Linked DNA regions of Homo sapiens: all the other regions are linked to region 1. Evidence: promoter capture Hi-C in 16 types of primary human blood cells and fetal thymus (Javierre and others, 2016). All regions are on one chromosome and are shown on one strand. Each heading gives the region's core, a stretch centred on a gene start or on the middle of the fragment in contact. The rest is flanking DNA. Distances are from core to core; before and after follow the strand shown. Region 1 holds the start of JADE1 (jade family PHD finger 1). Region 2 overlaps LARP1B (La ribonucleoprotein 1B). Region 3 overlaps LARP1B (La ribonucleoprotein 1B). Region 4 overlaps LARP1B (La ribonucleoprotein 1B). Region 5 overlaps LARP1B (La ribonucleoprotein 1B). Region 6 has its middle 63 kb from the start of PGRMC2. Region 7 overlaps PGRMC2 (progesterone receptor membrane component 2).

Region 1 (4,290 bases), core at 568-3,067:
GCGGGCTACAAAAGTTGGCCCCGGGGCCACCCAGCACCTGCCCACGTGCCGCGGAGGCTCGCTCCCGAGTCTCCCCCGGTTCCCTCCCCCGCCGCCCTCGGCCGCCAGGTCACCTATTACCGGTGGGAGGGGAGAGAGGCTGCTATTTAAACGCCCGCGGAAGTTGAGGCACCCCCACTGGCGGGTGCCGTGCACCTGCCTCCCGCCGCCGCGCTCCGCCACTTTGAGCAGCAGCCGCGTCCTCAGCCCCGCCTCCTGCCCGAAGGCGGGCGGGGGGGAGCGGGAAGGAGGTGGAAGGGATCGAATTTCTCCAGCAAATGGGACCGTTCCGACAGGATTCGGTTCCCCGGTCAACATTCCACATTCCATCCCTCTCCCGCATTTGCAAGCCAATGCCGAGCAACCCGGAAAGCCTGCTGGCTACCGAACAACAGCCCCCAACTCGCAAACACAGACTCACAGGCACAAGACACGTGCACTGAAGGGCTCTGCAACTTGCAGTCCCGGGGTACACACTACACGTTCATTTAAGGAAGCAAGGAGACCAAGAGACCCCACCCCCACAATTTGCAGATGGTGCCAAAGGTTGCAATTTGCAATCCCCTTTAAGTTCACGATTAATCGGTACTTTGCTCTACCAACGCCAACTCCTACCCCATTTCATCGATTAAGGGGTTTTACACTTTACAAGCAGTCGCGCTGTAAGTAAAAGATCTGATCACTGGAAGCCCAGTTCGGAAGAATCTAATTGCCAAACTGTCCCTCCACCCCCACCCCCACCCCCCTCTCACTGCCCTTGAATTGATGCAATGAATATTTTGGACATGTGGTGACGCGGTGACAAGAGCCAGGGCTGCGGCCACCACACACAGATGTACCTACGCACACCTATGTTTGGACAAATACAGTCCCACCACACACACGGTCTCACACACTCTGGATTCATATATGTACGCGAACCTGCGTTCTGCCATTGCCATCTGTCTACCAAGTTGCTACTATGCTTTCCACTTTCATGCAGCCTAATGCACTTTGGCTTTCTAAAAAAAAAAAAAAAAAAAAAAAACCTATAAACTAAAGCCAACTTAAACTGGGCTTCTGCTCCTAAACGCGTTTAATTGATGATTCACCTGAAAACCGCATGTTCTTCGCAAATCCAAAAGAAGAAATAGCTCTAAGTCTTCAGCCCCCCAAATTTGAAAAAAAAAATCATAATAAAACTTACTGATCCAACATAGATCAATTCTCAGGATCCAAAAATCATCCTCTCCTCCTCCTCCGGCCCCCGCCCCGGCAATGCCCAAGTTACTGGTGGGATAGTAACGCTGCGCTCAGCGGCTGCCTCCCTCCCTCCTCGCTACAGATCGAGAACCCAATCTTTTGGCGCCATATTAATGACGTATTATATTATTTCCACTAGGCAGCGACCTTCGGCATTAAATTACTCCCGAGAACTCCCGAGCAAAGCAACAAAACCATCAAATATGGCTGAGCCTCTCGGCTCGTCCTGCAGCCGCCGCCGCCGCCGCCGCCGTCGCCGCCGCGGGACCGGGACGCGCACACGGACCCACACGCGGACACGCGCGGACACACGCGCGGCGCGCCCACCCCGCGCGCCCCCCGCGGCCCGCGCGCGTACCTGCTGCGGAGGGGTTCGGCCGAGGCGCTGGGCTGGGCGCCGCTCGCTCGCTCGGAGCTGCATGAGTTCGGGCCGCGGCGGGCGGGGAGCCGGGCGGGCCCCTGCTCTCGCCGGCGCGCACACACCGGGCACTCGCGCACGGAGGCACTCTCGGTCTGGCGTTTGGCTTGTTATGGAGGAAGGACTATGTGAATCAAACTCATTTCTGGGTCACTGCTGCCACAGGGGGGAGCACTTTAATCCCTTGCCAAAACGAGAGGGTGGGGACGGGAGGGCGGAGGGAGCATGCGGGGAGCCCGCGGCGCTGGGGCTCGGTCCCTCGTTAACTCTTCGCAGCCCTAGCCGCAGCCGGCTCAGCCTGCGCCAGTGGGGGCTCGCAAAGAACGGCACTGTTCAGCTCTTAGTCTCTTTCCTTACTTCACCCACCTTGTGAGCCTAGAAATTCTTGAGGTGTCTCCAAGCAAGTGGGTTTTTAAATTAGCCCCTTCAAACTGCTGTCCCAGTTTCAACTCTTGTCTGACATCTAGAAATGGATTCTTTCAGAATAGTTTAAAATTACGTAGATTAAAATATGGCTATTAAGATGTGTCATTTGGGTGAAAGGTTTTATTTTTAGGCTGAGTGGCAAAATAGTTGTTTGTAGTAACAGTTTTAGGGAGTTGCACATTAGGATGACATTTTTAAATAGAGAGAATCCAATTCTGAATAACATCTTTACCTAAATTTGTATGGAAGTGATCATTGCAAATGAGCATTAATTCATTAGAAGATATTATTTATAAATTGACACCACTTTATGTTACACATTACTACAGAATTGGACATCTTCTCCCAAATATGAGGAGTGAGCCTAATGCTAAAACTAGAATTGCAGACTAGTATCAGATCAGTCATCGGAGATTCATTTGGGGGTATTTATGTGTAAAAAGGAGTGGTTACTGATTTTCTGCAGAAGACAAGCTTGCTTTTTCATATAGAGGGCAACATACTTCTTTCATGGATTCATCTAGGGAAATAGAGGGGTATATGACATTCAACTTCAATAAGAAAAAAGTACGGATTAAAAACTCCCATTCAGGCCGGGCGCGGTGGCTCACGCCTGTAATCCCAGCACTTTGGGAGGCCTAGGTGGGCGGATCACCTGAGGTCGGGAGTTCAAGACCAGCCTGACCAACATGGATAAACCCTGTCTCTACTAAAAAATACAAAATTAGCCGGGCATGGTGGTACATGCCTGTAACCCCAGCTACTGGGGAGGCTGAGGCAGGAGAATCGCTTGAACCCGGGAGGTGGAGGTTGTGATGAGCCGATAATGCGCCATTGTGGTCCAGCCTGGGCAATAAGAGCGAAACTCCGTCTCAAATAAATAAATAAATAAATAGGAACAGTGATCACTAATTACAAAATTGAATATCGAACCCAAAAGGCATATGTGTCCACCGGAAGAATCTTTCTGAATATATCAGGTTTGATTTCATGTAATCCCACACCAGCCCAACTACCCACATCCAGACCCACATCCAGAACGTTATAATCTGATAAATGCGACAAAACAAAACTAATTGAGCCTTTCAGTTATTTTTCAGAAAACAAAGTAAGCCAGTGGAAATCCTAAGTACTGTATATGTCCTCTCCTGTTTCGCTAATGAAGAGTAGAAAGACTCCCTGCCAGTCCTATTCATGTGTTCACTTAATCCTGTTCAAAGCGATCACACATGTAAAGCACTGTGTTAACTATCATTATTACTATTCTTAGTATTGCACTTGTTATTGTTATTTTTACTGGTTCACCTCGCACATACTCTCTGTAGAAGTTAAAGTACACAGGCTTTGTAGCCAGACATGGCTGGATCTGGCTCTATCAGTTAGCAGTTTGTGTGCCTGTGGGATAAAAGAACTTTATCTGAGCCTCAGTTTCTTCCCTGGTAATAAAATTAAGTTAACAGCTGGCCCCTAACCTGAAGGGTTGTTAAGAGGAATCAGGCAACCTCATAACAGTTCAGGAGTAGAGGCCCTGGCAGTAGGAGGTTGTCCACTCCCTCGGCCATCACTCAACTCCTTCTTGGTTTTCTCTCCATCAAAAATTGCAACTTTTCTAAATTCCAAACAGCCTTACTTCACGCATTCATGTTAAGAAAATTTTTGTCGACCGGGCGCGGTGGCTCATGCCTGTAATCCCAGCACTTTGGGAGGCAGAGGCGGGCGGATCACGAGGTCAGGAGATCCAGACCATCCTGGCTAACACGGTGAAACCCCGTCTCTACTAAAAATACAAAAAATTAGCCGGGTGTGGTGGCGGGCGCCTGTAGTCCCAGCTGCTGGGGAGGCTGAGGCAGGAGAATGGCGTGAACCCGGCAGGAGGAGCTTGCAGTGTGCCGAGATCACGCCACTGCACTGTAGCCTGGGCGACAGAGCGAGACTCTGTCTCAAAAAAAAAATTTTTTTAACTCACATTTGCTGCTTACTCTTTTATTTGCTTTTTCTATCAAAAACATCAGGCACCAACGAAAGTATTGAATAAAATGGATGACAAAAATAAAGGGATAAAATGGCACACAAACTCCCCACACTGACACATTGAACATGAGTGAAGGTGCCATGTACAGAGTCTCAATTATGCCGTGGCTTCAGAATACTCATCCACTGAAACA
Region 2 (4,290 bases), core at 469-2,968, 660 kb after region 1:
TGGAGGCGGCCCCAGGGCCCGGATGGCTCCTGGCTGGGGTTGTAGGGGGCTGGACTAAGGGTAGGTCAGAGGCCTGGGGCAACTGCTGGGCCCCAGAAAATGAAGCTGTACCATCCACTGCAGCTCCTCACTGCCACTCATGTTGCTGATCCTTGGCACGAGGTGGAACTTCTGCTGGGCTGCCTGCACTGCGGCCGGGGGGCTGCGCGGGGTCGCCATACCCACGCCATTCCCGGAGCTCGGGCCGGGTTCCCTGAAGTCTCAGAACATGCCCCGGGCTGGCGGCTCCGCGTGGTCCACGGCCGCTGGCTTCCGACTCTCTTTCCAGATTTTGACCACATGATGTTTTACTGTCTTGGCCCTCTACTGTGCCTTCACACAGATTTTTTAAACCTACTTTTTCAGCTGTTCTCAGCAATAGGGTTCATCTGAATTAGCCAGTCTACCACAACTGGATGCACAACCAAAGCCTAATTTTGGTTTTTGTTTTTGTTGTTGTTGTTATTTTTAATAAATTTATACCTTGCCTTGTTCAAAAAGGGACCAAAGAGATTTAATGATCTAATGGATATAAAAAAATTTGTAGCCTGGGCACAGTGGCTCACACCAGTAATCCCAGCACTTTGCAAGGCTAAGGCAGGTGGATCACCTGATGTCAAGAGTTCGAGAGGAGCCTAGCCAACATAGTGAAACCTCATCTCTATTAAAAATATAAAAATTAGCTGGGCGTGGTGGTGGGCGCCTGTAGTCCCAGCTACTCAGGAGGCTGAGGTAGGAGAACTGCTTGAACCCAGGAGACGGAGGTTGCAGTGAGCCGAGATCACACCATTGCACTCCAACTTGGGTGACAGAGCAAAAAACTCCGTCTCAAAAAAAATAAAATTTTGTAAACAGATTACAATTCAGTATAAGTCAAAAACAAACATACATATGTGGTGCAAAGGTAGAACAGGAGAGTAATTTTTCTGGGATTGAGCACAAAATTTATCAAATAAGATTTTCCTGGAAGAGTAATATCTGAACTGGGGTTTATTTAGCTAAAAGATAATGAATTTGGCAAGTAAACAATGTGAAAAGCCACTGCAGGCAGAGGAAACTGCACATGCAACTTGGTATTTATGGATACAAATTTTAAAGCAGAGAGCAACAGGACAATGAAAATATGTAAAAGCCAAATCAAGAATTCATGAATTCTTGCTTGCCAAAGAATTTGAACTTTATCCTGAAGGGGGTGAGGAACCACTGAATAGAATTAAGAAAAACAGAGAAATAATCATATTTATATTTTACGATGATGAAGGATTTTAGAAGGATGAAGGATTTTCCTTGGAATCATTTACTTTGAAAATAATGAAAGCCTGAAACCATCAATGGCCACTGTTGCTCCCACTCAGAGAAAGCGTAACTGAAAATGAAGCTAACACAGAGCAAAGTACACCAAAGATAGGGGTAAAGAAAAGCAAAGTCTTTCTTTGGTGTCTTATACAAAGCCTTGCCTAAAATCAAGAACTGCTTCTTGGACTTGTAGTAAATTATCTAATTTGCTAGGGAAAAAAAATGAAATGAGAAATAAGGAGGAAAGACTACTCTGACAAGAGTTAAGCTAGAAAGAGAATGAACTAGAGCCAAGAACATCCTATAAAACTTCTATAGAGAGATGACGCATGGCAGTAGGAATGAATATGAAAGGACTGATAGGACCTAGTGACAAACTGCATGTTAGAAGTTACGATAAGTGGATGGGGATTCCTAAGGCATCCAAGCAAAATAAAAAATATAGGTTTGGGGTGGGTTTTCTTTCATTTTTTAAAATGAGAGACAGAATATAAAAAAGATGCCTATGAAACATAAGACAAATAACTGGAGAATTTAGTAGGCTACCGGTAATATAGTTCTAGAGTCCCACAAAGACACAAGGGAGTCATTAGCATACAGTTAATAAATAAAAACCCAAAACTTAAGAATAGAGTCTATCATTTCTAGACAAGCTATCAAAATAATAAGAGAAGTAGGCCAGGGATAAACCAGGGAAGACCACATTTTAAAAGGCAAACTGGCCAGGCACTGTGGCTCATGCCTGTAATTCCAGCACTTTGGGAGGCCAAGGCGGATGGATCACGAGGTCAGGAATTCGAGGCCAGCCTGGCCAAAATGGTGAAACCCCATCTCTACTAAAAGTACAAAAATTAGCCAGGCGTGGTGGTGCACGCCTGTAGTCCGTGGCTGAGGCAGAAGAATCGCTTGAATCCGGGAGGCGGAAGTTGCAGTGAGCCAAGATCGCGCCACTGCACTCCAGCCTGGGCGACAGACTGAGAGTCTGTCTCATAAATAAATAAATAAATAAATAAATAAATAAATAAATAAATGGCAAACCAAGGCCAGGCGTGGTGGTTCATGCCTGTAATCCCAACACTTTGGGAGGTCGAGGCAGGCGGATCAGCTGAGGTCAGGAGTTCAAGACCAGCCTGGCCAACATAGTGACACCCCGTCTCTACTAAAAATACAAAAATGAGCTGGGTGTGCTGGCGGGCACCTGTAATCCCAGCTACTGGGGAGGCTGAGACAGGAGAATCGCTTGAACCCAGGAGGTGGAGGTTGCAGTGAGCCAAGGTTACACCATTGCACTCCAGCCTGGGTGACAAGAGCAAAACTCCATCTCAAAAAAAAAAAAAAAAAAAAAAAAAAGGCAAACCAAAATTGTAAACTTAAAACTGTAAAATAATAAATCCTGTTGTGTGTTTTATCACAATTAAAAAACAAAAGTAAAAAAGGAAGAGGGCAACAAGACCACTTTGTTGTGCCATAAAATATAAATGTGCTGAACAGATGACAACATGCTGGTTATAAGCAGGAACCATCTTGAGAGAGCTCTAACCTGACTAGGTTTGAGATATTCTGAACATCAAAATGAATGAGGACAAGAATGGATAGAAATCCATGTTGGAGTCCATACTATCACTAAAAAGGGAGAAAATTAAAATATAAAAATAAAAAAATGAAGTGGAGAGGAAAGTTCTTCTTTATAGAAGAATACTAACAGACATATAGGGAATAACAAATTTAAAAATCACCATCTAAATAAAAAAATAAAAATAAAAAATAAAAAACATTAACCTAAAAAATAAAAAAATAAAAAATAAATAAAAATCACCATGTTGGCCGGGCGCAGTGGCTCACACCTGTAATCTCAGCACTTTGGGAGGCCGAGGCAGGTGGATCACGAGGTCAGGAGTTCGAGACCATCCTGGCCAACATGGTGAAACCTCGTCTCTACTGAAAATACAAAAATTAGCTGGGCGTGGTGGTATGCGCCTGTAGTCCAAGCTACTCGGGAGGCTAAGGCAGGAGAATCGCTTGAACCCGGGAGGTGGAGGTTTCAGTGAGCCGAGATTGCGCCACTGCACTCCAGCCTGGGGACAGAGCGAGAGTCCACCTCAAAAAAAAAAAAAAATCACCATCTTATAATAAGCATAATAGCTGATTCAAGCAAAAATCACCAATGGAAGCTAAAATACTGAATAAAGACTGTTGGGGAACACAGTTTTAAAATATCACTCCAAGGATCATTTATTAATTACAAAAGAGAAAAGGTACATTTACAGTGAGCAAATCTGGTAGATATCATCATAACCAAATGACCAAATCACCAATTCTAACCACATCAAATTTTGTAACTGACATCACATGTCTCTGGAGAGCATATACTAAACAAGGCACATTGCCTATGTAATGTTCTTGTCAAAAATACTTAACCTGGCTGGGCGCGGTGGCTCACACCTGTAATCCCAGCACTTTGGGAGGCCAAGGTGGGCAGATCACTTGAGGTCTGGAGTTCGAGACCAACCTGGCCAACATGGTGAAACCTTGTCTCTACTGAAAATACAGAAAATTAGCCAGACATGGTAGTGCATGCCTGTAATCCCAGCTACTCAGGAGGCTGAGGCAGGAGAATCACTTGAACTCGGGAGGCAGAGCCTGCAGTGAGCCGAGATCACGCCATTGCACTCCAGCCTGGGTGACAGAGCGAGACTCCACCTTAAAAAAAAAAAATCTTAACCTGAAGCTAATCATATAAAGATATCGGGCAAATCCAAACTGAAGGACAAAACAACTGGCCTGAACTCTTGAAAAACATCAATGTCATGAATAGCCAAAAAGAAAAAAAAAGGCAGCACAACTATTCTAAATGAAAGAACATTAAAATTATATGACTCTCAAGGCAATGTGTGATTCCTGTCTGGAATTGACTTAGAAAAAAATAAAAGAAATTATAAAGGACAACTGAGACAA
Region 3 (4,290 bases), core at 867-3,366, 640 kb after region 1:
AAAAACAGCGAGAGGCCATATGTAAATGACCAGCGTTATCACATTGGCCCGTGGCAGGCTAGTTTCAGCCAATGGGCCACAATTTGCTGGCCACTGAACTATAGCGGTCAGATAGATATGAATCCAAATCCTGGATTCACACTTTGCTAGCAAAAAAACAAAATCATAACTATATTTTGTGTATTCAATAAAGCACAGAAAAACATAAGCATATTAAAATATATATATAGGCAGTATAAAAGAGAACCCAATCAAGCTTCTAGATGAGAAAAGGACAACAGCTGAGATTTTAAAACATACACATACACACACACACACACACACACACACACACACACATTGGATGGGATTAAAAATAGACTCTGTAGAAGAAAAGGCTAATAAACTTGAAGAGAGGAATAAAAGTTACCTAAAACAAAAACAGAGTAAAAGGACTGAAAAACAACAACAACAAAACAGAGCATTAGTGAAGTATGGGACAACTTCAAGTGCCCTAATATAAATTTTAAATGTAATTGGAGTCTTGAGAGAAAGAGAAAAAAGTAACAAGAAAACATTATTAATTTTCTTTTCTTTTTTTTTTTAAGACAGAGTCTGACTCTGTCACCCAGGCTGGAATGCAGTGGTTTGATCTTGGCTCACCGCAACCTCTACCTCCCGGGTTCAAGTGATTCTCGTGCCTCAGCCTCCCAAGTACCTTGGATTATAGGTGTGCGCCACCACACCCAGCGAATTTTTGTATTTTTAGTAGAGATGGGGTTTCACCATGTTGGCCAGGCTGGTCTCGAACTCCTGACCTCAGGTGATACACCCGCCTTGGCCTCCCAAAGTGCTGGGATTATAGGCATGAGCTGCCACACCCAGCCTATTAATTTTTTAATTAAAATTTTAAATTTAAAGGAACAGCTGAACACTTTCCAAATTTGATTAAAAATGTATAAACACACATATTTTAAAAATCCAGTGAGTTCAAGCACAAGAAACATGAAAAGTACACCAAAGCAATCGTAATTAAGGTGCTTAAAATAGGTGACAGAGGAAACATTAAAAGCAGCCAGAATCAACAGAAATTGAACCGAAAACAGAAAAGCAACCTCAACAACAGAAAAAAAAAGAAATTGAAAAAAAATAATCAGCCAATCCTTAAGAACCTGTGAGACAACAAAAGGTCTAGGAGAGAAGAAATGCAGGGCTAAAAATTTTTTTTGAGGAAATAATAGCTGAGAACTTCCCAAATTTGTCTAAAGTCAAACCTACAGATTTAAGAAACAGAGAATCCCATCCAGGATAAACCCAAAGAACTCCATACCAAGGCACATCACACTCTATTTGCTGTAAATGTCAGATGAAAAAAAAAAAAAATCTTGAAAGTAGCTAGAGATGCATTACTTGTAGGGAAACAATTTGAATGACTATAAATTATTATACCAAAAACCATGGAGGACAGAAAGGAGTGGTACAACAGTTTTGAATCACTAACAGAAAACAATTGTCAGTTCAGAATTCTTTATCCAGTGAAAATATCCTTGGCAATGAGGTGAAATAAAGACATTCTCAGAAGAAAGAAAACTATAAATCATAGCCAACTGAACTGCTCTAAAAGAATTGCTAACCTGAGTATTTCAGACAGAAGAAAATGATAACAAAGGAAACCTGAAACATCACAAATAGAGGAACAGCAAGATAAACGGTAAAGGTCCAGATAAATATAATAGACTATTCTCCTTTTAAGTTATTTAAAACACGCTTGAAAGTAAAACACGCTTGAAAGACAATCAAACATTGTCTGATGGGCTTTTTAACATATGAAGATATATAAGACAATTATTACATAAAGAAATTTCAGCTGAGTGTGGTGATTCATGCCTATAATCCCAGCACTTTGGGAGGCTGAGGTAGGAGAATCTCTTGAGGCCAGCCAGCAGTACTAGACCAATCTGGTCAATGTAGTGAGACCCTGTCTCCACAAAAAATAAAAAAATTAGTTGGGCTTTGTGGCGTGCACCTGTAGTCCGACCTACTCGGGAGGCTGAGGTGGTAGGATTGCTTGAACCCAGCAGTATGAGGCTGCAGTGAGCCATGACTAGACCACTGCACTCCAGCCTTGGCAACAGAGTGAGACCCTATCTCTTGGGGTGGGGCCGGTGGGGAGAGAAAGGAAAAAAAAAAAATCTCTATGGAGGTTAGGTTTCTACATTCTTATTGAAATGGTAAAATACTGATTCCAAATAAACTGAAAAGTATGTGTTTTGCAACCCCTAGAGCAATCACTAAAAACAATTATACAAAAAAAGATATATATGTCCAAATTCATAGTACATAAATTAAAATGTAATGGAAAAAGTTACAAACAACACAAAGAATGCACAAAATGGGCAATAGAAGCCAAAAAAAAAAAAAAAAAGAAAAGAAAAAGAAAATGAATAATAAAAAGGTTGACCTAAATCCAAACATACCAATAATTACATTAGTCAAAACATACCAATTAAAAGATATACTGTCAGACTGAATAAAAAACATGAACTAACTATATGCTATCTATAATAAACTGACTTCAAATATAATGATATGGGTACGTTAAAAGTAAAAAGTTGGCAAAAGATACATCACATACCATGAGAAAGAAATGAAAGAAAGCTGGAATGGCTATATTAAAATCAGACAAACTAAATTTCAAAGCAAACAAGGACAACATATATGAATGAAAGGGCCAATTCACCAAGATGACACAATATACCAATGGGTATAAGGTGAACTAACAAAAGAGCTTCTAAATAAATAAAGCAAAATACAACAGAACTGAAATAGGAAATAAACAAGTCTGCAATTATAGGTGGTGACTTCAACACTCCTCTCTCAGTAAGACAGAACCAGTAGACAAAAAATCAGCAAAGATATAGAACTCATCAACACCATTAACCAACTGAATTGAACAGACAATATGGAACATTCTACTCAAAAATAGTGTAATAAACATTCTTCTCAGATGCATATGGCATATTCACCAAGACAGACTATATTGTGGGTGATAAAATTAGCAAATTAATTAAACAAATTTGAAATTAACAAATTAATTTTAAATTTTAAAATAATGTAAAGTATGTTCTCTGGCTATAATATAATTAAACTATATATCAATAAGATTAATAACAGAGGGGTAACTGAAAAAATTCCAATCACTTGGAAATTACACCGAATACACTCCTAAATAATCCATAAAGAGGAAGTCTCAAAAGAATTTAGAAAATGTTTTGAAAAGAATAAAAATTAATAAAATACAGCATATCAAATTTGTGGAATGCAGCTAAATCAGTGCTTAAATAAAAATACATAGAATTAAGGGCTGTGCTCATGGCTCATGCCTGTAATCCCAGCACTTTGGGAGGCCGAGGTGGGTGGATCATTTGAGGCCAGGAGTTTGAGACCGGCCTGGCCAACGTGGTGAAACCTGGTCTTTACTAAAAATACAAAAATTAGCCAGGTGTGGTGGCACAGACCTGTAATCCCAGCTACTTAGGAGGCTGAGGCAGGAGAATCGCTTGAACTCAGGAGGCAGAGGTGGCAGTGAGCCGAGATTGTACCACTGCACTCCAGCCTGGGCGACAGGGCGAGACTCCGAGATTCTGTCTTAAAAAAATATATAGATAGATAGAGATAAAGATAGAAATAGAGATAGAGAGAGAATATTAAATGCTTATATCAGAAAAGAAACTCTCAAATCAATAATTTAAACTCTCCCTTAAAAATTAGATTTCAAAAAAATAGATTTCAGGAAGATATCCAAATTTTAAAAATTAAACAAAAACACTTCTAAATAGCTGATGTATCAAAAAATTAAAAAGAAATTAGAAAATATATAGAACTGAATGAAAATCAAAATACAATAACACCTAAAATACTGCTTAGGTGGAAATTTGTAGTATTAAATGGTTATAATAGGAAAGAAAAATGGTGTCAAATAAATGATCTAAGCTTCCACTCAAACTAGAAAAGGAGGAACAAAATAAGAAAAAAGGAAATAATAAGGAGCAAAAATTAATAAACCTGGAATAAAAATAAAGTAAATCAATGAAAATAAAACTTAAAAAAATTAAACTGATGAACCTCTAGCTAGATCGATCAAGACAAAAAAGACACAAATTTATAAATAGTAGGAATGAAAGAAGAGATATCTCTACAGAACCTACGAACAGTAAAAGGAGAAAAAGAGCATATTATAAATTCCAGGAAATGAATAAATTCAATAGGTACAAAAGCTCACCTGAGAAAAAAGACTTACTTAGTCTTATG
Region 4 (4,290 bases), core at 1,022-3,521, 620 kb after region 1:
AACACGGAACTATGACATCCCCAAATGCACAAAGCAAGGAGTCAGGGAGAAGAAAAGCAATGTGTGAGGTCTCAGATCAAGAACAAAATAACAGTTCTACAGACACTCAGCAAAATCCAAGATAACACAGAGAAGCAATTAAATTTATCAGAGAAATGTAACACAAAGAGATTGAAATTAAAAAAAAAAATCCTGGAACTCAGAAATACGTTTTCTGAAAAATGGATTACAGGCTCTCACATTGCAAGAAACAATCAGTGAGCTCAAATACAGCCTATTGGAAAATACAGTCAGAGGAGAAAAAGAAAGGAATGAAGAACACCTGCAAGATATAAAGAATAATCTCAAAAGAACAAATGTAAGAGCCACTGGCATTCAATGATGAGTTAAGAGCAAGGAGTAGTAAGCTTATTCAAAGAAATAACAGAAAACATTCCAAATCTAAAGAAAGATATAAATATCTAGGTACAGAAGGTCAGAAATTACCAAATATATTTTTATTAGTCCATTTTCACTCTGCTATAAATAATACCTGAGGCTGGGTAATTTATGAGGGAAAGTGGTTTAATTGACTCAGTTCCACATGGCTGGGGAGGCTTCAGGAAACTTACAATCGTGGTGGGAGGGGAAGCAGGCACCCTTACACTGCAGCAGGTGAGAGAGAGTATGTGTGAAGGAGAAACCGTCAAACACTTATAAAACCATCAGATCTTGTGAGAACTCACTCACTATCACAAGAACGGCATGGGATAAGTGCCCCCATGATCCAATCACCTCCTACCAGGTCCCTCCCTTGACACATGGGGATTATGGGAATTACAATTCGAGATGAGACGGGTGGGAACACAAAGCCAAACCATATCAATATTCAATCCAAATAAGAGTATCCCAAGGCAAATAATAATCAAACCTGAAAATGTCAAGGACAAAGAGAAGATCCTTAAAACAGCAAGAGAAAAAAAATAAAAGAACATATAAAAGAGCTCTGATTTTTTTGGCAAGAGACTTTTCAACAGAAACCAAACAGGCCATGAGGGAGTTAAGTGACACATTCAAAGTGCTACAGGATAAATGGAAACAAAAACAAAACCTGCCAACCAACTATGCTGTACCCAGCAAAGTTTTCCTTCAAACAGGAAGGAGATATAAAGTCTTTCCTAGACAAAAGCTAAGGGAATTCATCACTACTAGACCCATCTTTTCAGAAATGCTAAAGGGAGTTCTTTAATTTGAAAGAAAACAAACTTTGATGTGCAAAACCAAAAATGTTTGAAGGTATAAAACTCACTGGTAAAAGTAGACAAATTCAGAATGCTCTAATGCAGTAATTGTTACATGTAATCCATTCATATCTCTAATATGAAGACTAAAAGACAAATCTACTGAAAATATTAACAGCAACCTGTTAAGAGATAGGGAAGATAAATAGATGTAAATTAAGACAACAAAATGTCAAAATGTGGGAGGATGGAGTTGAAGTGTAGAGTTTTTTAGTTTTTCCCTTGATTCTTTCCTTTTCTTTGTGATCAAAGTTAAGTTGTCATATGTTTAAAATAACTTACAGCTATGGCTTTGGTAAGCCTCATGGTAACCACAAAGCAAAGACTTATGATAGATACACTAAAAATAAAAAGCAATGAATTAAAACATACTCCCAGAGAAAAACCACTTAATCACAAACAAAGGCAGTAAGAAGGAAGTAAGGGAGGAGTTACAAAACAACCAGAAACCAAGTAATGACATACTGCGTAGTAAGTCCTTATCTATCAATAATAATACTGAATGTAAATGAACTAAATTCTCCAACCAAAAGATATAAGCATGGCTGAGTGAAAAACTTTTAGAAACAAGATCCAACTATATATTGCCTACAAGAAACTCAAATCACCTATAAAGACACACATAGTCTGAAAGTGAAGAATGGAAAAAGACATTCCACGCAAATGGAAGCAAAAAAAAAAAAAAAAAAAAAAAAAAGTAGCCATACTTGTATCAAACAAAATAGAACAAGTGAAAGTCTGTAAAAAAAAAAAAAAAAAGGACACGGAAGGTCACTGTATGATGATAAAGGAAAGGATCAATTCAGCAAGAGGCTGTAACAATTTAAAAATATATGCACCCAATTCTGGAGCACCCAGATATATTAAGTAAACATTAATAAATCTAGAGGAGAGATAGACTATAATACAAATAATAGCAGGGGGCTTCAACACCCATCTCTCAATAATGGACAGATCATCCAGACAGAAAATCAACAAAGATACAATGAAGTTAAACTACACCTAGACCAACTGGACCTAGTGACATTTATAGAACATTTCACCTACTACTGCAGAATACACATTCTTCTCATTAGCACATGGAACATTCTCCAGGATAAAACATATGTTAGGCTACAAAACATGTCTCAACAAATTTAAAAAAGTCAAAATCATATCAAGTATCTTTTCTGGCTACAACAGAATAAAAATAGAAATCAATAACATGAAGAATTTTGGAATCTACACAAACGTGGAAATTAAACAACATGCTCCTGAATGATCAACAGATTAATAAAGAAATTAAGAAGAAAACTTCAAAATGTCTTCAAACAAATGCAAATGGAAACGTAACTTTCCAAAACCTATGAGATACAGCATAGCAGTACTAAGAGAGAATTTTATAGCAATAAATGCCTACATCAAAAAAGTAGGTTTCAAATAAGCAACCTAACGATGTACTTAAAAGAACTAGAAAAGAACAAATCAAACCCAAAATTAGTAGAAAGAAACAATAAAGATCAAGGCAGAAATAAATAAAATTGAGACTAAAACAAGTACAAAAAATCAATGAAATGAAAAAGTTGGTTTTTTGAAAAGATAAACAAAATCAACAAACCTTCAGCTAGATGTATTAGGCTGTTCTCACATTACTATAAAGAAATACCCAGCCAGGCGCAGTGGCTCATGCCTGTAATCCCAGCACTTTGGGAGACCAAGGCGGGCGGATGACCTGAGGTTGGGAGTTCGAGACCAGCCTGACCAACATGGAGAAACCCCATCTCTACTAAAAATACAAAAATTACCCAGACATGGTGGTGCATGCCTGTAATCCCAGCTACTCAGGAGGCTGAAGCAGGAGAATCACTTGAACCCGGGAGGCGGAGGTTGCAGTGAGCTGAAATCACACCACTGCACTTGAGCCTGGGCAACAAGAGCAAAACTCCGCCTCAAAAAAAAAAAAAAATACCCGAGACTGGGTAAATTATAGAGGAAAGAGGTTTAATTGGCTCATGGTTCTGTAGGCAGTACAGCATGATGCTGGCTCAGCTTCTAGGGAGGCCTTAGGAAAACTTACAATCATGGTGGAAGGCAGGGGGAGCAGCACTTCACATAGCTGGAGCAGGAGGAAGAGAGACAGTGGAGGTGCCACACACTTTTAAACAACCAGATCTCACAACTCACTATCACAATGACAACTCCAAGGCAGATGGTGTTAAACCATGAGAAACTGCCCCGGTGATCCAATCACCTCCCACCAGGCCCCACCTCCAATACTGGGGATTACAATTGAACATGAGATTTGGGTGGGGACATAGATCCAAACCATATAATTCTACCCTGGCCCCTGCCAAATCTCATGTCCTTCTCACATTGCAAAATCTAGTCATGTCTTCCCAACAATCCCCCAAAGTCTTAACTCATTCTAGCATTAACTCAAAAGTCCAAAGTCTCATTTGAGACAAGGCTAGTCCCTTCCACCTATGAGCCTGTAAAATCAAAAACAAGGTAGGTACTTCCAAGATACAATGGAGGTATAGGCCTTGGGTAAATACACAAAAGGAAGAAATAGCCCAAAAGAAAGGGGCTACAGGCTGCATGCAAGTCCAAAGCCCAGAAGGGCAATCACTAAATCTTAAAGTTCCAAAATAATATCCTTTGACTCCATATGTTACATCCAGGGTATGCTGGTGCAAGGGGTGGGCTCACAAAGCCTTGGGCAGCTCCATGCCTATGGCTTTCCAGGGTTTAGCCCACATGGCTGCTCTTAAGGGCTGGCACTGAGTGCCTGTGGCTTTTCGAGGCTGAGGATGCAGGCTGCTAGTGGATCTACCATTCTGGGGTCTGGAGGACAGTGGCCCTCTTCTCAAAGCTTCACTAGGCAGTGCCCCAGTGGGGAGTCTGTATGAGGGATCCAACCCCACATTTCCTCTCTGCACTGTCCTTGTAGAGGTTCTCCATGAGGGCTCTGCCCCTACAGCAGGCTTTAGTCTAGACATCCAGGATTTTCCATACATCCTCTGAAATATAG
Region 5 (4,290 bases), core at 900-3,399, 600 kb after region 1:
AAGAAGTATGAGCTGAAATGTTAGGCATTCCTTGTATTGTTTTTTAAATATATTTAAGGAATGCTGTTTTTGTAAAACCATGGCTTTGAAAAAGAAATCTGAGATCAAAATACATTACTAGAAGATCTCTATAAAAGGTCACCAAGACTATCCTTGTTTGTGAAATCAGGGAAAACATTTTTAGAATTTATCTTGTTAGAAAAAATGCTACCACTTTTCTTTCTTTTTCTTCTTTCTTATTATCACAATTAAACACCAGAAGATTTTCCCCAAATAAATACTGATGTAAATGTTGACTTCAAGGACAAAGAACTTTCATAAGAGTCTATTTCTCAGGCATTTCACCATTTCTTGAGACCACAGGACACAGGCAGCACTGTTTAATGTGAATTGTCACTGGACTCCGGTGAAATATTCCTTCTGGGAGAGTTTATTGGTACCTGAAGCTCACTGGTAGATGTAGGTTTAGCAGCATTTGGTGGCTTTGTAGAGGAATTAGGTGGAAGTCTATGACGATTACTCTCCTCACCAGAAGTAGAGGAATGTCTTTTTCTTCCAAATTCATCACTAATAGGGGGCTGCAAATGATGAAAGGCAACACCGTTGACAATTTTACTGTTTTTCCTCCCTTCAGAATCTAAGGCTAGACTTTTCCCCAAAAAAGTAAGTTAAATGGACACTTCAGTATAATTTTTTTTTTTTTTTTTTTTTTTGATGGAGTCTCATTCTGTCACCCAGGCTGGAGTGCAGTGGCGCGATCTCGGGTCACTGCAAGCTCCGCCTCCCGGGTTCACGCCATTCTTCCGCCTCACAGATTGTATTAGTATAACAAAAACTTAACAGCAACTTAAGGTACTAAACTTAAATTTCCTTCCTAACTAAATCAGCCTACTAGTATTTGCTCATTCTTTTACTCAACATATGTTTGTGGTTTTTGTTTTTTGTTTTTGAGACGGAGTCTCACTCTGTAGCCCGAGTGTTTTTTTTGTTTGCTTGTTTTTTGTTTTTGTTTTGAGACAGAGTCTCACTCTGTAGCCCAAGCTGATGTGCAGTGGTGCCACATCGGCTCACTGGAATCTTTGCCTTTGGGGTTCAAGCGATTCTCCTGCCTCAGCCTCCCAAGTAGCTGGGAGTAGAGGCGCAAGCCACCACACCCAGTTAATTTTTTCGTATTTTTAGTAGAGACGGGGTTTCACCATGTTGCCCTGGGTGGTCTCAAACTCCTAAGCTCAGGCGATCCACCCGCCTCGGCCTCCCAAAGTGCTGAGATTACAGGCATGAGCCACCATGCCTGGCCTCAACACATGTTTACTAAGCTTCTCTCATTTTTTAGGGCCTGAGCTATCTGATGGGGCATAACTATAAGGCTGGGTTCCTTGGCTCCAAGAAAATGTTTCAGCGAGGCTATTTGCCTTCTTTATTAATTTCATCAACTGTAAAGGATTTGTATTTCCAGTCTCTTTCTCAATCCTAAACTCCTATTCCAGGCTTGCTTAAGTGAAAATGTTTAAATAACAGATAAATGAAAGCAGTAGGGGAATAAAAGAGATGCCAAGTTAAATTATCGTTAGCAAGTTTGAAGGTTTATCTAGAATTCCTATGATGAGACTGGAGAATATTATTGATGGCACCAAATTTAAACATCTTCAAACGTTTAAGTACCCAGTGAAAAGGTATCCTGCATTCAAAAAAAGTCAGCTTTTTATGCCTTTCCAGTTACCAAGATTTGGGAGCCCAGAACTGGACACCAATGAACTAGTATTTTTATGTGGAGCTAAACTAAGATAGTAACCTCCTCATCCAATCTTCCGTTGTACTTAAAGAAGGAGGCCTGAATTCTTAGCTTATGTTCAGATGGGGCAAGAGTCTCAAATATAGAGCAAGGATGTCTTTGTGACAGAACTGGCTAGGCCACTCTAGAAAAATAGCTCTTAATTCCAGAGACAGGCACTTTTATTAACCCTATCCCTGGGTCATCAAGTCCATTTACACAAAACTGCAAGACAAATTACAACACAAAGCAGAGATGATGAACCTAGCCTTCCTTTTACTTCTTTCCTATTTTTAAATTTAAAATTTTTCTTCTTCCCTTTTTTTTTTTTTTTTGAGACAGAGTCTCATTCTGTTGCCTAGGCTGGAGTGCAGTGGCACAATCTCTGCCCACTGCAACCTCCACCTCCCAGGTTCAAGCAATTCTTGTGCCTCAGCCTCCTGAGTAGCAGGGATTACACACGTGCACCATCACACCCAGCTAATTTTTGTATTTTTAGTAGAGACAGAGTTTTGCCATGTTGACCAGGCTGGTCTTGAACTCCTGGCATCAGGTGATCCACCCGCCTCGGCCTCCCAAAGTGCTGGAATTACAGGTGTGAGCCACCACACCCAGGCTTTTTCCTTTATTTTTTATTTATCTTCTTCCTCCTTTTCCTCTATCTTCTTACATTCGTGACATTTTTTAATGCTTTTCTTTTCCTCTTGAAATCAAATGGATAAAGCCTATATAAGTTCAACCTTCCACCAAAGGTGATGAGAAGAACGCATGAGAGTGGACATCGTTGTAAGATGGCAGCAAAAGGACCTTGTCTGGCTGACTCAACTAAAAGACACCACTCTTGTGCTTGCACACATGCACACAACATTCTCTCCTTAATTTTATTATGCAGGTACCCTAAATCCATATCAGCACATGTTACAGGAATTATATGGATAAAAGATCATTAAAAAGTGAAAAGTTTTCACATTGCTAGTGACAAATTAGCATATCAGGTAAAAATTAATAAATCTAGAAAATGTTTAATTATAGCAGCATATGAAAATTAAATTGAATTAACAATTGCACTGTGGTTATACAAGATGTTAACATTTGCGAAATCTGAGTGAACAGAGTATATGGGAATTCTCTGAACTATTTTTATATCTATTTCAAAGTTTAATTTTAAAACTAAAAAGTTAAAAAATAAAAATTACAAAATTAAAGCTTAAAAAGTCACTGATAAGAGACTGAAATATATGGATAATAAAAAGAATAGAGGAAATGACTTAAAACTTACATCAACACGGAAGTCTTCTAACCTCTTAAAACTACAGAGGTATTCCTGAAGTTTTGGGTCAATAGACTGTGTCTTAGATTGAGAATATTTCAAATAAGCCCAAAACTTTTCTAGTCCATACAGCTGACCTAATAACAAAGAATAATATACATTATGAATTATATGAAATTTTAAAAATTATTCACATTAAATATAATCCTATCAGCAATAAACAATTTATCTTCCAATATATGCTTACTCTAGATCTTGAGAATAAGACATGTAATGAATTAACCAATAATGGCAGCTAATATTTATTGAGCATTTGTTATGTAACAAGCATTAAGTGCTTTATTATGCATCAAACTAATTTGAACCATATACAACCCAAAAGATGGGTGTTCTCATATATGTTACAGATGAGAAAACTGAGGCTAGCAAGGGTAGGCAATTTACCCACAATCACATAGCTTCTAAATAGTGGAAAGGGAATTTGCACCTAGCAGTCTGTCCCAGAGCCTGCACTCTTAACCACTGTGCTATTTCTGCCTTTCCAAGCTTACCTGCTGATGTTGCATAGAATTTTCATGTAACGGAACATCAGTGAGTAGCCACGTTTGTCAAAGGGATAATGACAAAATATACCTCCATAAAAGAAAGACTTGAGAGTAGTTACTTTCCAACACCTCCCAGGAAAGGCCTTCTTACTACCTGGTGCCCCATCCTTCATCAAGAAACACAACAATAGCATGAAGATCTTAAATGGTTTGCCCTGAAGAAAAAAACTATGAACTCCTTCCCTATTTACTGACAGACTCAGGTTTACAATTTCCAATTAGAGTACAAGTTTTCTGATGTTATTGTTACCAGATTCGTAGTCTTTTTTGGTTTCTTCTTGGAAATCCTGAAAAATTTCTCGCCTGAATTTTTTTTCCAGTCCATAACTATAAAACCTGAACAGACATTCTAACCCATACCTATAAAGAGAAAATAAAAGGTTTATAATAAAATACAATATCTCTATAGTTAGTAACATCAATATAAGCAAACATGGCACAACTAATCCTAAACAAAAAATAAAATTTTAGCATTCAGATTTTTTAATTATTTTTGAGACAGAGTCTCACTCTTGTTGCTCAGGCTGGAGTGCAATGGTGCGACCTCGGCTCACTGCAACCTCCGCCTCCCTGGTTCAAGCTATTCTCCTGCCTCAGCCTCCCGAGTAGCTGGGATTACAGGTGCCCACCACCACATCCAGCTA
Region 6 (4,290 bases), core at 1,093-3,592, 580 kb after region 1:
CTTTCTCTGATCCCTTCCTAAATATAAGAACTCTAGCAACAAATCTGAATTTTAAGGTGGCTCATGAAGGAATAGAACGGTCAGACAATGCCAGGTATTATTTTAACTGCATCTGCCCTGTTTAGCAGGCAGGAACTTTTGCAACTCCACAGCCTTCCCTAGCTTCCGTTCCAGCCATGGCCGCTAGCGTTTATCCGATGTCTCAATAGGTACACACTGTAATCAGGGGTATTAGAAAAAGAAATTGCTAACTTAATGTCTTATTTTCTCTCAGGGATTTAAAAGAATTAAAGGAAACAAGCACAGGTGGTAATTGACCTGGTTAACTCTGGAATCACTTTGAATCTACTTAAAATAGGAGTCACGTGGAACACAAGGGAGGAGGTTCATAAAGCACATGCTGTAATTTAGGGTACATATAAAATCATTACACCCACTTAAAAGCAATCTTTTGAGTGACTTTAAAATATGAGAGCTATTTTCATTGCATGGTAGACTAGAACCAAGGCAAATGAAAGCAAATGTATGCTTTCTTCTCACTTTTCCTTTATGTACAGCCTCGCCAACCTTTCCGGATGTCCTCCAAAATAGGGTCCCATCCAGTATCATTCTGCCATGTAACAGAGCTTCTTCTCTTGGCTTATACTACATGTTCTAAAATTATCCTTTCTCTCCCAAATAAGTTCTTTCCCCTCTGTACCTAATTTTTTAATCTACTCTCAGAAATATGGGCTCTGATTAATTAATTTTCACCTGAGTGGCTAATTTTTCCTTCCTAGAAGTACTTAAGATTTTTAATAGCAAGAGCAGGTTAGTGCCAGATAGCACTTTACATGTATTTTCATTTAATTTATTGAGCAGAATAAGGGCCAATGGGTTAATCTAACTTGCCCAGTCATATAGCAAAAGCAGAGTTTGGATGCAGGGCTACTTAACTCCAAAGCATGCACCTTCCCCCTTTTGTCAGTGCATTTACACTTTTTTGCTTGAAAACCCCCTAAAATAATTTTCATAAGCTATATATCCCTCATGAAGCTTTAAGCTGACATCTAAGCTTTTTATAATTTTAAATAATTGCATAGGTCATAATTTCCAGCATATTATAAATTTCATTTTAAGCGAATCCAACGAAATCCAAATATATAACATTTGGATCTATTTTTTTAAATATATGAGCAAGTTATTCTTTAACTTTTAGAAAGCTTACATCTTTCCTTTTTCTCCTTGAGCTTGTATTCTATCCCATTTTTTCCAGATTTTTATCATAATGTTTTTATGTTTGAAAATATTATTGACCAGATATGTAAATGTATTAAAACAAAAATAAGTACATAATTTAAAATTTTACTTTACTCTGACTATAAGTGGTTCTAGTTGATAAAAACTTTTCTTGAGTTATTACAAATATTAATATAGAATTGATCGAGACAACAACAATATATACACATTTTGGTAATTATTAAACATAAGTAGTAAATTTGTTATTATCACTTAAGTTAATATTAGCTACTGTAACAGATAAAGTTCAAAATCTTGTGGCTTAATATAATTAAAAGCTATTTCTTGATTTAATATAGAGTCCCCAAAAGGACTAGGTAGTGATTCAGGGCTACTCCTCAGGGCTCTGTTGTTTTCAACATATGGCTTCTGTATAGCTGAAGAAGAAAGGAATGAGCATGAAGATGGCACGTGGCCAAGTCTAGAAGTGGAGCCCCTTACTTCATCTGCTTTCCAATAACCAGAACCAATTATATTGGCAAACCTGAAAGAGCAGGAGGACAGGAATGCAGTCTAGCATTCTAGAAATGCTTTGGGTAAACAGCTCGACAATCTTGGCCACAGATTTACTGGAAATGCCTGTCTTGAGAAAAATCATGATTCAACTTTTAAAATAAATCTAATGAAACAGAATGCTTTAGTCTACTAAAAACAAATTTAGCAGCTATTTTTAAAATAATATATTTTGTAAATAAAAAGTTAACAATTTTAAACATTTTGTAGGATGGACTCATAGTAATTGTAATGCATATTTTATGATTTGATAAAAATGTGTTCTAAATCCCTCATTGAATAATACAGTGTACACTAGCCACAATATACAAAGCTTTACCCATAAATATTTATAAAGAAGAGAAATTTAGCAAGTCTTGTGGGTTTATGATAGCTCAATGAATTACTATGAAGATTTCACCTATGTGTGGCCCATGACAGCTTGCATAACTACAGCAGTATTTGGGATAGGTCAGGACAATGCCTTTCTTTTATAAAGTGGAGGAAAAAAATTAGGAATTTGTGCACCTTTTCTCCTTCTCCTCTTCCTCCTTTTTTGTAGAGACTGGATTTCGCTATTTCCTCAGGCTGGTCTCGAACTCTTGACCTCAAGTGTTCCTCCCACCTTGGCCTACGAAAGTGCTGGGATTACAGGCATGAGCCACTGCACCTCCCAGGAGTTTCTAAAGGTGGGAGTTTTTGACAAACCAATTAAATATTTTGATGCCTTCCCTTGGCCCTTGAATTAGACTATATCCTCTGTTTCACTCAATAGGACTTTTAACGTAGTAGTACTAACAATGAAGCTTTGTTCAGGATCAAGAATCCCCCAAAGATAACACAATAATTACCCTGAATCAACTGTGTAAAGCTTTAAAAAATCAAGCAAGTATGTTTAGCTATAACCATACTTCAATCTCATATACAGTTCCATTCCCTGGATGATGGCTAGAAGGATTTCTAGTTACAGCCTGCCTTCTATCAGTCTTCACTCTTTTGGCTCTTATGTGTTTTATCTCTTCAGCACTTGTGATATTGTTTAAAATACCTTACATATTTGAATGTGGCTTTTGCTGAGAAATTAAAAATAAATAAATATAAATAAAATATCTTACATATATTGTCCTTGTATAGTTTAAGAATTTAGGCAAAATATTATGTTATATATGCCAGATGTCATGATAGTTATTTTAGATGACAGGATTTCAAGATATTCCTTCCATCTTTCCTCCTCTTTTCTTTCCCTCTTTCTTTTATTCTTCTTTGTTGGAAATATAATGGTAACCAAGATAGACAATATTCCTGACTTCTCATAGTTGAGAGAAGGTAAAATGCAAAGATTGGAATGAAGTTTTACTTGGGTAATAACTTCCATGATATTCTTTTTTATTCTGAAAATATCCTTATTACGATTATTTGAGCTATTACTATATCACTTTAGCAAAGTTTAGGCACTAGTGATTTAAATAACATAGTCAAGGCCGGGTGCAGTGGCTCAGGCTTGTAATCCCAGCACTTTGGGAGGCTGAGGCAGGCAGATCACCTGAGGTCAGGAGTTCAAGACCAGCCTGGCCAACATGATGACACCTGTCTCTACTAAAAGCACAAAAATTAGCCAGGTGTGGTAGCGTGCGCCTGTAACCCCAGCTACTCAGAAGGCTGAGGCAGGAGAATCGCTCGAAGCCATGAGGCAGGCTGTTGCAGTGAGCCAAGATCGCACCACTCCACTCCGGCCTGGGTGACAGGGCAAGACTCCATCTCAAAAAAATTAAAATAAATAAGTAAATAACATAGTTGAATGGAAAAATATGACAAGTATGAAAAGTTTCAGGAATAGTCATTAGAGATTGGTTCTAGGAAATTGTGCCGATATGCTTTAAAGTGAATATAATGGTATCAAGTTCATTTCAATACATTCATGCACCAAGTCAAAAACTGTATTGTATGTAATCCACAAACTTTAAGGTTTTGAAAATAAATTTTTATTAAATAGCTAAATATTACCTAGAATATGAGAACCTCCATCCAGGCTTCCTAGAAACCTATACTGTAATCTTCAAAATAATAAAACAGGCCAGGCGCGCAGTGCTCACGCCTGTAATCCCAGCACTCTGGGAGGCTGAGGAGAGAGGATCAATTGAGGTCAGGAGTTCAAGATCATCCTGGGCAACCTGGCAAAACCCCATCTCTACAAAAATAGAAAAGTTAGGCGGACATGGTGGTGCATGTCTGTAGTCCCAGCTACTCGCGAGGCTGAGGCACGAGAGTCGTTTGAACCTGGGAGGCGGAGGTTGCAGTGAGCCGAGATCTCACCACTGTGCTCCAGCCTGGGAGAAACAGGGAGACTCTGCCTCAAAAAAAATAACATAACATAACATAACACATATAAAATAAAATAAAATAAACATGTAGTGTTTATTAAAATGTAGAACAACAATAAAGCTGGCTGAAGATCAAGATAATCTGGTGGTCCGAGAAGTTACCTGCCTCCCCTGCGGGCTCTGCCTGTGGCCTAGATAA
Region 7 (4,290 bases), core at 674-3,173, 540 kb after region 1:
ATCACTACAAGCAGCATTAAGACTGAAGTTGGAATATTCTGTTGACCATAAAACCTTGATATCATTCTGTGTATATAGAATGTAAAAGGAATATTACAGTGTTAACTGCCATATATGTAATATACACAAACTCAATTAGCATTGTAATGGCCAAATGCATTCCCCCATGCTTTTCTGTTTTCAAAAAAATTGAAAAACAAATCAACTCTTATCCCCAACAGCTGCCTAATTTTAGGAGTCTGACCCTCCACATCTCACTGGTGTGGGTGCATGGGGCTGTGGAGTGGGTGTCAGTATGGATGTGTCTGAATGTGTGAGGCCTTGGAAGGGACTCTTTCTGCAGATACTGTAAATACAAGTACCATTTTAATAAAGCATGTACAATAAACCAAAATAAGCTTGAGTTGGACTTTATATACAGAACTGTAAGCCAGTGCATTATGATACAGTTGTAAGATTGTGCATTTGATTCAAGATAAGGAAAAATCTTGGAAATGAAAAGCAGGCACTGGTTAACCAAGTTGTACACATTGTACCACATTCAGCATAACTTTAGGAAGAAATTCCACTTTGTGGAACATTCTCCAGAAATCCAAGATTATTCAGGTAAGAATTGGTATATTAAATGTACATCTTTTTACTTTCTATTTTGATGCCAACTGATTATACTAGACAATTAGCACTCCAGGTGGTTATTGAACACAAAACAGTAAAAGAATATTGCACTGATAGATACTAAATTATTATTTTATTAGGTTGAAAAAGCCCTTACTAAAAGCCCCTCATATATCAATTACTTTATTTCATTATGACTACTTAGGTTCCGGGCTGGGGACAAGTTCACTTAAAAAGGCAATGTTATTTAACAGGTCACCAGTTAAGACTTCTGCTTTGTAGATACATGCAGAAGCCATCAAACAAGGGGGAGCTTTTAACTGCAACAATAAGCTAAAGTATGTAAAATACTACATTCTATTCAGTCTTGGAGTGTTTTGTAGAAAGTTATCTTCAGCCAAATCTTTGCTGAAGACTGGTTGTGGAGTGTTGGTAAATGCTTTGTGTTTTTATGTAAAATATTTTCTAAACAAAAAATGTTAAAAGTACATGTCCTCTGTAGTAAACTGATATCTATATATATGAATCATTCAAGCCTAAAGTCTAGTAATAAACTGTACTTGTGAATAGAGAAACCCTAAATATTCATGCAGAAAAAATTATGCGGTCTGTTAAGAAAAATGAGTAATTTGTGTTTTGGACTTGAAATAAACAGTGTTCTGTAGATAATTCCTCAACTTCAGTTGAATGTTTCTCATTCTCAGGTAGTTTTTCAGGCAGTATTTGAATGAGGGGACCAGACAGTGCTGGTATTGTTCCTTTGTTCCTGTTCCCCGCTCCCCCCTCCACACAGACAGACACATGCACACACACACACACACACTCCTGCTTAGCCCTATTTTCGAAACTTGCCTGATAATTAGAATTGCTTAAGGTACAGATTCTTAGCCTTCAATCCAGACGTACCACCCGCTAAGCCAGAATCTTTAAGAGAATGGGCCTCAGAATTTATTTGTAAGGAATACCTCAGGTAATTCTGATCAGGAACACTTAGGAAACACTGGTTTTTCAAGTTAATATTGACCATCTTTGTTAGGCACTTGAAATGGCCTTACTCAGGTAATTTTGGTCTGATTCCCTTCATCTGGTTTTGTGTCATTCAGAAGACTTCACAAAATTCTAATGTATGATTTTAGAAAACAGCAAATTTTGATAGTCTTTAGATTTTTATCTTTGGGTAGCATTTCCAAGTTGTCATATTTCCCACATTAAATCTACACTGTGTGTACTAGCCAGTTTCTCTGCATTAGGAAATGAACCCATAACAGTTACAGATCAGGTTTTTAAAACCTTGACCATGGTGCTAAGGCTGCTTAGGTTTCCTAACAGTAATTCTACGTGCCTTTCTGTAGGTAGATCTGTTTCTGCAGGTAGATCTTCAGAATCCAACATTACACCTACCTTTACCCACATTCTTGAACCTAATTTGCTGAATTACCACTGGGAGATATTTTGTTCTATAGAAAACAGATATTTTCTACAGAATCAGGCTGTCCTTATCCAAGTATTTCACATAACCTCTATTGATAACAGAAGTGCAGCAAGTTGCTAGTAAGATGTGCCATTAACATGTTAACAGTGTGTAACTACAGAGCTTTTATGTGTCAGAATAAGCGGGTAATACTGTAGTAAAGAATTTATAAAACTTTCAAGTTGCTTTGAGTATATTGAAAATAAGAGTCATGGAATATTGTAACAGTGATACTGAATGAATTGTTCTAATTAAAGTAGCAAATGCTTAAAAGATAGCTTTTGAGTATGTTCCATTAAGGTCAGCCATCAATTTGTTAGATGATACTCATCACTGATTATTTTCTATTTGACTATGGCAAGAAAGCTCCAATAAAGACGACCCAACTTTCCTGTTTTTAGGCAAAAACCATCATTCCTAGGCACTGTTAGAAAAGCACGTACAGAAAAATTGCCATACTCCTGAGTCACTTTGAGTACCAGCTTTGCATTTGTTCTACCACCACTAGTGGCTGAGAGCACATTTGGGCTGCCTGTAATTACTCCATTCAAGAGAGCATTTGACATGCTATGAACACTGGCTTATTCCTAAAATTTTTCTTTTACAGTATCCACACAAGATCCAAGAAAACCACATCATGATGTTTAGTGTAAGAAGACCAATATTTGCATATGCTTTTAAATACTTTGAAAGCATGATTTTAGTGGCTGCATAGTATTGTTCCCAAATAATAAAGTTTTTAATGAAAATGCAGGAAGTTCTGTAGCAGGATGAGCTGCAGACAAGAACCCCTCAGACACCAAGTTGTGGAAGCAAAGGGCTTTATTCAGCTGGGAGCATCGGCGGACTCAAAAACCGAGCTCCCCAAGTGAGCAATTTCTGTCCCTTTTAAGGGCTTACAACTCTAAGGGGGTCTGTGTGAGAGGGTCGTGATCGACTGAGCAAGCAGTAAGAGTATGTGACTGGGGGCTGCATGCACTGGTAATCAGAATGGAACAGAAAAGGACTGGGATTTTCACAGTGCTTTTCCATACAATGTCTGGAATCTATAGATATAACATAACTGGTTAGATCAGGGGTTAATCTTTAACTACCAGACCTGGAATGCAGTGCCGGGCTGTCTTACTGATTTTGCTTCTTTCTTTTCTTTAACTCCTACTTTTTCTTTGAGGCAGAAATTGGTCATAAGACAATATGAGGGGTGGTCTCCTCCCTTATTCCCCCACATTGAGAACCTCACTCATTAGTGGGAGTTCTCACTTCCATCCTCACTACCCATGTCTTCTTGCAAGACAGGTCATGATTCATATAGCACATTTGTGCTGAAGCATTTTGGTGAACTAAGGTAGCAATGAAGCTTTTTATCATTTGAAGTACAGGTAGCAAACAAAGGAACAGTAAGCAGGTTCCTATTACTATTATAACTCCTATTATAAGAGTTTTAAATCTTCCTAGCACTGGGAACCATTTTCCAAACATGGCCCCAGGATTAAATCTATGCCACACTTGCACAGGCACATGTGCCAGTTTTGTCATTTCTAACTATGTCTTAAACTACTTGCCCTTGATCATCTATGTGTAGACAGCAATTAATAAGGTTAAATTTCCTACAGACCCCTCCTTCAGCTGCTAGCAAGTAGTTGAGAGCCCATCTATTTTGATAGATAGTATTTCTCATCTGAGTTTCTTGCTGGGCCAGAATAGTCAAGGCTCTGCCAGTTTTATTAGTGATTATTTCTAAGACAGTTTGTAACCATATGATTCAGTTGAGCATGCAAATTGGGGTCCGGTATCCCCACGAGCCATCTTGTGCCTAAGTAGCAGGCTCATACTACTGTATGATTCTTTCAGGGGGCCACTTATCATCTTTCCAGTCGCCTATATCTATGCTTCTATTTTCTCGGGAAGCATAGACTGGGAAGCCTAGAAGTTTGCCTGTTTTTATGGGCAGTAGGAAAAAGGACGGGTTATAGCACACATCAGGCTGGTCACTTCCTGGGCTACATACCTTGTATAGAACAGCATTATACAAACAAGTTCCTTTTAGAGTCCCTGTACACTTATGGTAACCATAAAATAATAGGACTGTAGCAACCTTTTGTCCTATGTTGTGGGAAGTCAGGGACCCCAAATGGAGGGACTGGCTGAAGCCATGGCAAAAGAACATAAATTGTGAAAATTTCACGGACATTTATTAGTTCCCC

What was found. Contacts are between HindIII fragments. The CHiCAGO score rates a contact against its expected background, and 5 or more counts as called.
Region 2: a contact is called between a fragment that was not itself captured here and the fragment with the promoter of JADE1 in region 1, in 1 of 17 cell types (M1 macrophages). The highest score is 5.9, in M1 macrophages.
Region 3: a fragment that was not itself captured here is called in contact with the fragment with the promoter of JADE1 in region 1 in 1 of 17 cell types (megakaryocytes); the score reaches 5.1 in megakaryocytes.
Region 4: a contact is called between a fragment that was not itself captured here and the fragment with the promoter of JADE1 in region 1, in 16 of 17 cell types (megakaryocytes, naive CD8 T cells, naive CD4 T cells and 13 more). The highest score is 28.4, in megakaryocytes.
Region 5: a fragment that was not itself captured here is called in contact with the fragment with the promoter of JADE1 in region 1 in 14 of 17 cell types (megakaryocytes, erythroblasts, M1 macrophages and 11 more); the score reaches 11.3 in megakaryocytes.
Region 6: a fragment that was not itself captured here is called in contact with the fragment with the promoter of JADE1 in region 1 in 5 of 17 cell types (megakaryocytes, endothelial precursors, M2 macrophages and 2 more); the score reaches 10.4 in megakaryocytes.
Region 7: a contact is called between a fragment that was not itself captured here and the fragment with the promoter of JADE1 in region 1, in 9 of 17 cell types (naive CD8 T cells, total CD8 T cells, total CD4 T cells and 6 more). The highest score is 8.0, in naive CD8 T cells.

What each region holds. Positions count from the first base shown.
Region 1 is chr4:128,807,227-128,811,516 of GRCh38, reverse strand. JADE1 (jade family PHD finger 1) reads right to left here and starts at 1,817. Exons shown (of 11, transcript NM_199320.4): 1 at 1,640-1,817. RefSeq lists silencers at 1-254, 885-1,004, 1,515-1,994 and an enhancer at 1,305-1,414. The HindIII fragment of the contact is 6,052 bases long and covers 1-2,601 here.
Region 2 is chr4:128,151,369-128,155,658 of GRCh38, reverse strand. The region is part of intron 11 of LARP1B (La ribonucleoprotein 1B); the gene reads right to left. It also overlaps the pseudogene FOSL1P1. Among named protein-coding and RNA genes, the nearest start is that of LARP1B, 92 kb to the right of the region's middle. The HindIII fragment of the contact is 6,075 bases long and covers 1-4,290 here.
Region 3 is chr4:128,168,987-128,173,276 of GRCh38, reverse strand. The region is part of intron 12 of LARP1B (La ribonucleoprotein 1B); the gene reads right to left. Among named protein-coding and RNA genes, the nearest start is that of LARP1B, 110 kb to the right of the region's middle. The HindIII fragment of the contact is 3,716 bases long and covers 259-3,974 here.
Region 4 is chr4:128,187,012-128,191,301 of GRCh38, reverse strand. The region is part of intron 15 of LARP1B (La ribonucleoprotein 1B); the gene reads right to left. Among named protein-coding and RNA genes, the nearest start is that of PGRMC2, 99 kb to the left of the region's middle. The HindIII fragment of the contact is 3,724 bases long and covers 410-4,133 here.
Region 5 is chr4:128,206,144-128,210,433 of GRCh38, reverse strand. LARP1B (La ribonucleoprotein 1B) reads right to left here. Exons shown (of 20, transcript NM_018078.4): 18 at 3,897-4,006; 19 at 3,051-3,178; 20 at 1-578. The coding sequence ends at 381. Among named protein-coding and RNA genes, the nearest start is that of PGRMC2, 80 kb to the left of the region's middle. The HindIII fragment of the contact is 1,661 bases long and covers 1,319-2,979 here.
Region 6 is chr4:128,222,803-128,227,092 of GRCh38, reverse strand. It overlaps a transcript of LARP1B not described here. Among named protein-coding and RNA genes, the nearest start is that of PGRMC2, 63 kb to the left of the region's middle. The HindIII fragment of the contact is 472 bases long and covers 2,107-2,578 here.
Region 7 is chr4:128,266,244-128,270,533 of GRCh38, reverse strand. It overlaps PGRMC2 (progesterone receptor membrane component 2), which reads left to right. Exons shown (of 3, transcript NM_006320.6): 3 at 1-1,292. Among named protein-coding and RNA genes, the nearest start is that of PGRMC2, 19 kb to the left of the region's middle. The HindIII fragment of the contact is 3,045 bases long and covers 401-3,445 here.